2 separate regions of the Homo sapiens genome follow, and region 1 is linked to region 2. The links are contacts of gene promoters, found by promoter capture Hi-C in blood cells and fetal thymus (Javierre and others, 2016). All regions are on one chromosome and are shown on one strand. Each heading gives the region's core, a stretch centred on a gene start or on the middle of the fragment in contact. The rest is flanking DNA. Distances are from core to core; before and after follow the strand shown. Region 1 holds the start of CPNE5 (copine 5). Region 2 holds the start of MTCH1 (mitochondrial carrier 1).

What was found. Contacts are between HindIII fragments. The CHiCAGO score rates a contact against its expected background, and 5 or more counts as called.
Region 1: the fragment with the promoter of CPNE5 here is called in contact with the fragment with the promoter of MTCH1 in region 2 in 15 of 17 cell types (activated CD4 T cells, fetal thymus, monocytes and 12 more); the score reaches 10.8 in activated CD4 T cells.

The regions. Positions count from the first base shown.
Region 1 is chr6:36,836,399-36,840,743 of GRCh38, forward strand. CPNE5 (copine 5) reads right to left here and starts at 3,046. Exons shown (of 21, transcript NM_020939.2): 1 at 2,885-3,046. The coding sequence starts at 2,979. RefSeq lists a silencer at 3,510-3,719. The HindIII fragment of the contact is 11,867 bases long and covers 1-4,345 here.
Region 2 is chr6:36,984,240-36,988,307 of GRCh38, forward strand. MTCH1 (mitochondrial carrier 1) reads right to left here and starts at 1,957. Exons shown (of 12, transcript NM_001271641.2): 1 at 1,614-1,957. The coding sequence starts at 1,934. RefSeq lists enhancers at 1,511-2,233, 2,352-2,561 and a silencer at 1,672-2,261. The HindIII fragment of the contact is 16,171 bases long and covers 372-4,068 here.

The sequences.
Region 1 (4,345 bases), core at 1,796-4,295, 150 kb before region 2:
CCCTTCATGAGGAGGAAGGCAAGTGGAAACAAGTGTTCCTGGGAGCCAGAGGTGGCAACTCATAATCTTCCCTGAAACATTGGCCCCTCTACCCCAGCTGCCCATCCTGAAACCCCCTGGAGTTCTCACCTGCCAGCCCCTCTGCCTGCCCTACTGTTCTGGGCCCACCAGCAGGTGTCACTCAGATGCCCAGGGCAGAGCCTCCCCAGAGCCTCCTCTCCTGGAGCCCTGAGAGCGGGTGCAGTGGGGAGGGACTTGACTTTAACTGGCGACCATGGAGTGAAGAATATGCTGGAGAAAGCCACTGTCTGCATTTCTCCCTCCTCCCTGTGCTCCTCTCCTCCTCCTTTTCCTCCTCCTCTTTCTCTCTGTTCTAGAACCTGAATAGTTGGGCCTGGCTGAGGCAGAGAGATGCATCTACAATTTCCAGGCCACCCAGACTGTTTTCTCACCTCCCCTCTGTTCTAAGTGACTGCTCCCTCCTCATCTCTCCCCACCAAAACCCACTTCCCCCCACCTCTGGCTTTCTGGAGAACATGAGCAGGCCCCAGGTCAGGGCCTTCCTCAGCTCATGGATCATGTCCCCCAAAAGGGTATTGACCCAGGGTCAGCCCCAGAACCACATCCCCCAGGAAGGCCTCTTATGCAAGAGGTTTGAGTCCTTTGGACATCTTTACTTCCAGAAAGCAAACAGGAGGGGCCAGGTGCTACCGCCTTCCGGTGATCATTGTAGCTACTTATTGAGCACCTACTGTGTGCCAAGCAAGTGCAAAGTAGCTTGCTAGGTGCTTCATGCTCCTCCACTCCTGCAAGTTAATTCCTCCAACAGTATTTGGCAAGTGCCAGGCACTGCTCTAAGCACATGAGCTACCTTGGTGAACAAGGTTTCTCCATGAGTACATGCTGCTTATTGTTTGTACCTGACAGGTGGGGGAAACTGAGGCTTAAAATTTGCCCCAAGTGGTGAAGCAGAGATTCTGTTTCAAGGTATCTGACTCCAAAGCCACACTATCTGCCCTCCATCTCCTTTCCTCTCCACTGGAGTAGAGGGTGCATGGGTCTGACTCAGGGTGGGAATCCCTGCCCTCAAATGCTTACACAGTTGCTTTGAGAGGGGAGGGATGACGTCTGCACACCTGAGACGTCTCAAGAGGTTTCATCCTCAGTATGTGAGTGACCCTGTGGCCCAGGCTGAGTACCTAGGGCCCACGGGACACAGAAGACAATGATTTGAGCTGTGTGTCTCATGGGTGAGAGGATGCCTGAAAGTGGGGAGCGTGAGGCCAGGCTTTTCAGGAGTGGGGGGATCATGAACTTGGGGAGATAAAGGAAGAGTGAAATCTGGATGGGGAATGGGCTGTTCAGAGGCTTGGAGGTGGGAAGGATCCCAAGACAACTGAAGATGACAGGCATGATTGAAGGCTGGGAGGGAGTGCCAGGCGCAGGGATGTGCGTGCAGGAGAAGGGTGGGGAGGCCGTGCTGCTTTTGATGGCTGAGGAGGTGAGACTGGAGCTAATGGGCCATCAGGAATCTCCCAGCAGAGTAATGACAAGATGCAAATGGCGTTGGGAGATGATCCTGACGGCATGGTGTATGGGACCTGGGAGCTATCACAGGAGCCCCCAGAGGGCCTGGCTTAGGGGGGAAGCTACGTTCAACCAGACTAGCCTTCACTGCCACTTATCCCCAAGTCTTCAAGAGAAAGTCACACTGAGTCCTTCCCTCCTTCACGCCCCTGCCCAGACTCTCCAGCTCTACCTACACCTCATCAATGCCACAACTTTGTAATACAGGACTGGGGGGCAACAAGGTTACCTCTCATGGAGGGTCTGACCAAGGAGCAACCTGGAAGAGGATGAGATGGGTGATTTCGAACAAGGGCACAGCCAGGGCTCCAGAAATGCTGTCGGTGATCTGGGGCAGGGGGCATGGCCTCTGTGGGGGAACCTCAAAGTGGGTGATGCTTGCGTGGCAGCACATGATCCTAGGCCAGCCACAGAGAGACTGAACTAGGGAAAAATCCCCCTTTGCCACCCATACCCTCTTACTGCCAGGGGCAGCCTTCCCCTAGCTAGGAGAACCTGGGGTCGACCCAGCTCTTAGACAGAGAAGTTACCCCCAAACCCTGTGTGACATGAGTGAAGATTTGGGCGTGGTAGCCCACAAAAATATTCCCCCTCCTCCTCTGTTGGACTCTACAGTTTCACAATCAGTGTTCTATTCCTTTGGCTTAAGATTTTTGACCCAAGTTATTTTTTTAATGGTGCCACTTTAAGTTGTTATCATGTATCCACACCTTAGTATGAATGAGTCAATCTGATCCTTTTCCAGGAGTCGATTTCGTTGTTGATAGAGATGAAGGAAGGCTTTAAAATCCTAGAGTCTAGGACAGTGGGGTGGGGGAGACTGGTGAGGGGAGGATCAGGATGCTGGGGCAAAGAAGGGGCAAAGAGAGAAGAGAGGAGGGCACAGAAGGGAGAGGGTGGACGAGCCTGGGAGGGATGGGGGCAAATCACTCACTTCGTGATTTGGGGATGGGGTGATCAGAGATAGCCTGAGCAGAGACCGTAGTACAGCCTTTTACCAACTCCCTCTCCCCACTTGGGTGCCTGGACCCCCTGTTCCTGTGTCTTCATATCTCCTCGATGCAACAGCCTGGAGCGCAAACTTTCTGGGATATGACCCCAGCCTGGCTTCCTATTCTGCCGTCGCCACCCGCAGCTGGACAGGACAGGGGCTCTTGGCAGATCGGCAGGGGCGCAGTCCTGGAGACCAGGACACTCTGGGAAGGGGGCGCGCGGAGGTTTAGGATCGAAGCGGCAGGGGCCGCGGGGCTCTGCGTCCAGGGCCGGGGCAAGGGGACCCGGCCAGCGGGAGGCTCACCTGCAGGACACGGTGATCTCCACCTTGGTGGCCGGGATGCTGCCCGCCAAGGAGTCGAACTCGCTCAGCGACGCCATGTCCTCAGGCTGCTCCATCGCCCACCGCACCCCCCACCCCAAATTAGTCAATCCCTGCGCGATTCACGCCTCCTCCGGAGCGACTGGAGCCCTGGGCTCTCCCCCAACTCCAGAGCCTGGGCTGGGCGGCAAGGGGAGGAGAGAGGAGCGCGAAGAGGGGGCGTGGGAAGTGAGAGAGGGAAGAGGGCGGAGGGAGCGGGGGCCGCGGATCGAGGAGGGGGCTCGGGTGACGCCGCGAGGAGGCTAGGGGCCCAGTGGGGAAGGGCAAGGAGCCCAGGGAGCGGGGGCACAGCGGGGAAGGCAGAGAGGGGCGCGGGGAGAGGGGCTCGGGGAGAGGGCACCGGGAGGGAAACGCGGAGTCGTGGAGAGGGGCACCAGGAGAGGGACGCGCGTCTGTGGGCAGAGGTAGAGGGGATGCAGAAGACAGGGAGAGGGGCGTGAGGAGCGGGAGGCGCCGGATGGGGCGCTGGCGGCGGGGGTGGCGGGGCGCCGGCAGCGCGGAGCCCGAGCGCCCGGGCTGCGCCGCCTCTCCCTGGGTCTTGGCGCCGGCGGCGACGGGGCTGAGACGCGGCTGCGAGCGCCACCTCCTCGGCTCGGGCTTCGGCTCCGGGGCGCCCGGGCTGCGGGAAAATCAAATCTGCCCGAAGCCGCAGCCTCCCGCCGCCCGGGAACGCCAGAGGGGGCGCCCGCAGGGGCCGGGGCGGGGCCGCGGGCGGGGTCTGCGCGCAGGGTGAGTGTGAGCGTGTGTGTGTGCGCGTGTGTGTGTGTGTGCGCGCGTGGCGGGCCGGGGGACGCGGTCCAGATGCTGGGGACGTGGCGGGTGACAGCAAGAGGTGGTCCTGGTCGCGCGCATCTTCATTTGCGCCCGCCCCCTCTCACCACCCCTATCTCCCATCAGGGGTCTCCATCCTGGGGGAGGGGGAGGGTTATGGGAACCAACGGGCGCCTTTTTGAGAAAGGTCTATGCAGGGTTGAGAGGGGGCATAAGTGGGAGGGAGGTGTGCAAAAAAGATCCCCTCCCAGGGGCTTGGGTGTGGAGGGTCTCTGCTGAGTGTGCGCCCTACTCGGGGGCGGGTCTCAGTTCAGAAACAGACCCTACATCTCCTTCTGGGGAGGTGTGTGGGGGCGACCCCAGTGCCAGGAGGGACTACCTCGGTTTCCCAGTGGCCCAGGTGGGGTCGGTGCATGGGCGCCTCCCCCATCCGTGGTTCCCGCCAGCCGCGGCCTCGCCAAGTCGGCTGCCGAAACCACGCGCCAGCGCCCTTCCACTCCCCCGCCCGTCGTGACCACACGACTGAGCCAGCCTCCAGGTCTAGAAGCTCCTGCCACCCAGTCTGGTGGCAACCAGACTGGGAGATCGGCCCGAGCTCCCTGGGCTTCTATG
Region 2 (4,068 bases), core at 707-3,206:
TTCAACTGCTGTAAATACAATCTTAACCCTGTAAGACAGCCCTCATTCCCAAATCACAACCAAATGCCAGTCTGGTCTACACCTTCCGCCATCAACAATTTTCAAATCTGTCACAATTAGGGTCTAGTCAGGCACCTTGATGCCCCTGACTGAATCTCCTCATTCCTTGTCATATTCCTGGTCACACCCACAAATCTATTACCATTCCTCGGATCCCAGATTTCAATTACTCTCATTCTCAAGGCCTTCTCATTCCAGTTGTATTTTGCATTCTCTCGGTTCAATTATAAAGATGGTAAAATCTGACACCCACCTGCCTCAACTCAAATCTTGGATGGGTCTCCAATTCAATTTTTACCTTCCTCCCCCCAAGCTTCTTAACTGGAAAATTCTGGCCTAATGACCCCCATCAAAACTGTACCCATCCCAGCCACACCCACCTAATTCTCACACCTCCACACGCCCTTCATTCCAGCTCACTCCTCAAGCAGCACACTTCATCTGTACCGCATTGCTGGCCACCACCAAATCTGCCAAGTGCCTATGCATCCCTCTGTTCCAGAGACATCCCTACCTCGGTCTCAATTTCTGGTAGTCCCTACCTATCCTGCCACCTATGTCTCCACTGTCCCTTCTGCCCAATTTCAATACTCCCGTGCCCCTTCTCCTCATCTGCCCAGATACAAGCACTGTGATTCCTCTCTCTGACCCCAACTATGACTTCCATTTCCTCCTCCAAATGCGTCATCCCCCTTCCCCGCTTAAAGCCTCCTCCTAGCTCCCCTCTCTAGACAAATCGCTGCCACTCCCCTCCCCCAATGCTGGCCCTATCTGTTCCCCTCCCCCCATACGCGTCACCCTGTCCCCTCCTCCTACCAAATCCGTCGTCGCCATCAAATCCAGAGCCCCCATCTCCGGTAAACCGATAGCATTCCCCTGCAAAAGTCTTTGCCTTCGCACTCTCCCACCAAATTAAATCACAATGCAACCCAAGACCTCCGTCTCCTCTGTCCACCCCCAGTCTGGTGTCCTTCTTTCCCTCCTAAATTTCTGGCCCTGGCGCCCACTTTGTCCCCACCCCAAGACGTTTTAAATCCATCTCTATCAAATCCAGAGCCTCCGTTCCCCTCTACCCCAATTATGTGCTCCTCATTCTCTAAACACTTTGCCTGGGCCCCCAACCTTCCTCCCCATCTCTTCACCCAAACTTCTTGCCCCTCCCCCAATTCTATTGCTTCTTCCCTCGCCCCAAATTCGCTCCCTTCCCTATCCCAAGTCCATCGTCCCCACTCCTTTATCTCCCAAATATGTTTTTCCAGCCCATCGCTCCCTCCTTGGCACTCCCCCAAATCGCTTGTTCCTTCCACCCTCTCCCGTATCTGTTATTACTCTAACCCCTTGGTCTCCTTTCTGTATCCTAAAACCCGTGACCCCTGCGTTCCCAACTCCCTCACGGCTTCCCTCCCATCCCACCCACTCGGCCCCCCAAACCCGCCGTCCCCACCCCTCTCCCCAAATCCGTCGCCATTGACTGCCCGCCCCAATCCTCCAAATCCTGGCCTGTCACCTTCACATCAGCCTCCCATCTCCCTACGGCGCCTCTGGTCCCCCACCTGGATGAGCAGCTTCACGTAGAGCAGGGGATGGCTGAGCGCCGTCACGCCCGCGCCCAGTGCCACGAAAAGAGCCTCAGTGGTCGGGGCGTTGTCCCCAGACCCCAGGCCCCCTGACCCGCCATCCATCCTGCGGGCCGAGGGCTGAGCCGCAGGCCGAGGGTGGCGAGGATGTGCGCGGTGCGCGGGCGGTGGATCGCGAGCTCGAGCCTCGACCCCCGCCGCCGCTCCGCCGCGAGCTCCGGCTCCAGCTCCGGCTCCCGCCATCCCCGCGGCACCGCCGCGAGCCCAGGGCGCCACTTCCGGGTCCGAAGCTCCCATGGCGCCCGGCGGCGAGGTCACTCCCCGTCACGTGACGGGGCCACGCCCCCTCACCGGCGTCAGGGGGCGGGGCCGGGGCGCACCACTCCAGGCCGCGGGGGAGCTCGGGAGCGTGGTGCGGCGGGTGGGACACGCCGGATGTGGCTCCCCGGCCGGTTGGAGGCCTAGCAGGACACTGGGCTGCGGGCCGGGGGTCAATGGTGGCGGGCAGCCGGGGCCCCGGGCTCGGGAGCTGTGGCGGCAGCCGCAGGCCGGGGCGCTCCCCCGGGATGCCCAGAGCACGCGGGGGCGGGGTTCGGCGCCTCTGGCTGCCAGACGTCCCCAATATGGTCTGAGGCGCTTCCAAGCCACCTCCCTGGCTTCGGGAGTTTTCTCTGCAGTTCTCTGCCCGCCCCTTTGCGGCCCAGATCCCAGTCGCCGCGGCCTGCGTGGAACTCTGCGCGAGCTGAATCTCCTGCTGCAGGACGAGCCCCGACCCCGAGCCCGATCCCCTCCGCGGTCCCAGCCTCTTTGTCCGATCGCATTTTCCATCTCCTCTGCCAGGAATGCTCTCCCAACCAGAGCAAATCCAGATGTCCCCTCGGCGACTGTGGGCACCCTCCCCAGCTGTGGAGCCTTCGCACGCCTTCCTCAGAGTCCGTGGTTGTAAAATTTGTTTTGCTCTAAAGTATTTGACTGTCTCCCTCACTAGATCCTGAGGGTTTTAGTGAGTGCCTCAGTGTGAGCACATGCAGGCACTGCTAGGCGCCTGTAGTTGATTCTTAGTTAATACAAGTGAATAATCACAACTAGACCTTAAATTGCAGGGACTATGTGACAGGCACTTTTTAAAATGCTTTATACGTGTTGATTTAAGTGTAATCGTCACAAGAACCCTGCGAGGAAGATAGGACAGCAAGTGCCCTGTTCCTGTTTGTAAACGTGCCCGACACTCTGCAACAACACCTACAACAGAACCGTGCTAGTTTTGGGGGTTCGCAATAAAAGTTTCTGTTTGAACGGATCCTAGAGTGTGCAGGGACACAGCAATGGAAGACCTGGTCCCTTTGTCTGTACTTAGTCTATAGCCAGTTCATTGTGAGAAATTTCTTTAGATCGACACCTGCCACTGTTAGTCCGGGTTTCCCAGTCTGTCCTTTCTAACTCCCTTCCTGCCTTACCCCCTAAAAAGCTACCTCCCCTCTTCCCACTCCTGATAATGAACACTATGTACTTTCCACGTTCAAAGCATGCCACACTCCCTCTCTCCCTCACCTTGGCCTCCCTAACCCAGGCTTGTCCTAGTGAAATCACTTGCAAAGCCTGCTAACCCTTTCAACTTGCTGTGTTTTCTCCATCAAACACAATTTTCATCAAACATCCCCCAGGAGCACCTTAAATGACTTCCTTTTGCCTAGGTTCTGATTTAGCTTTCTCAATAAGGACCTCAAAGTCAAGTTCCTAGTGCCACACTAACTCTCTACCCAGAAGAGGCGATAGGTTTTAGTTTGGGGGTGGGGGGTGGGGGTAGGGGAGGATGATTTACTTCCCCATCCTTCTGAAACTTCCTCACAGGAACCTTTTCCTTCTTTGGGCTTTTCGTCCCCATTTTTCTCCAACTGTCTGTTTTTCTTTCTGAACTTGGCTGTTCACCGTTGAGCCTTTTACTCTGCCTTACATGGTCACCTAACTTTGGGCCTATACTGTATTTGGCCCTTTCAAACTGTAGTTTCATGTGAAGCAGCAACTTTGTGTTGTCTTGCATTGTTTTGTATCTTCCACAACATCAGATATAGGACTATGCACATAGTACATGTTCAGTAAAGTATTTCTAAATGATCGAACAATTTCTCCAAGTGAAGAAATTGAAGGAAAAATAGATCAGCTAAACCAGTTAGACCCGTAGGGTACCAAGCAGAAGCAAATGTTAAACTGCACAATAGCTGTATTTCTACAACTCAGGGCTCACAGAGACTCCAAGAGGAAGAAAAAAAGAATCCTCACAATAAAAAATGTATGAGCCGCTCAAAGAAACGTGCCATCATGAGAGAGAATGGGCAAAACAGGAAGAACTTGAGATAATAGAACCATCTCAAAGAAAATTAAAAGGAAAGAAGTAGGTTTCAAATGAAGGCAAAGATAAATAATAGGAAGT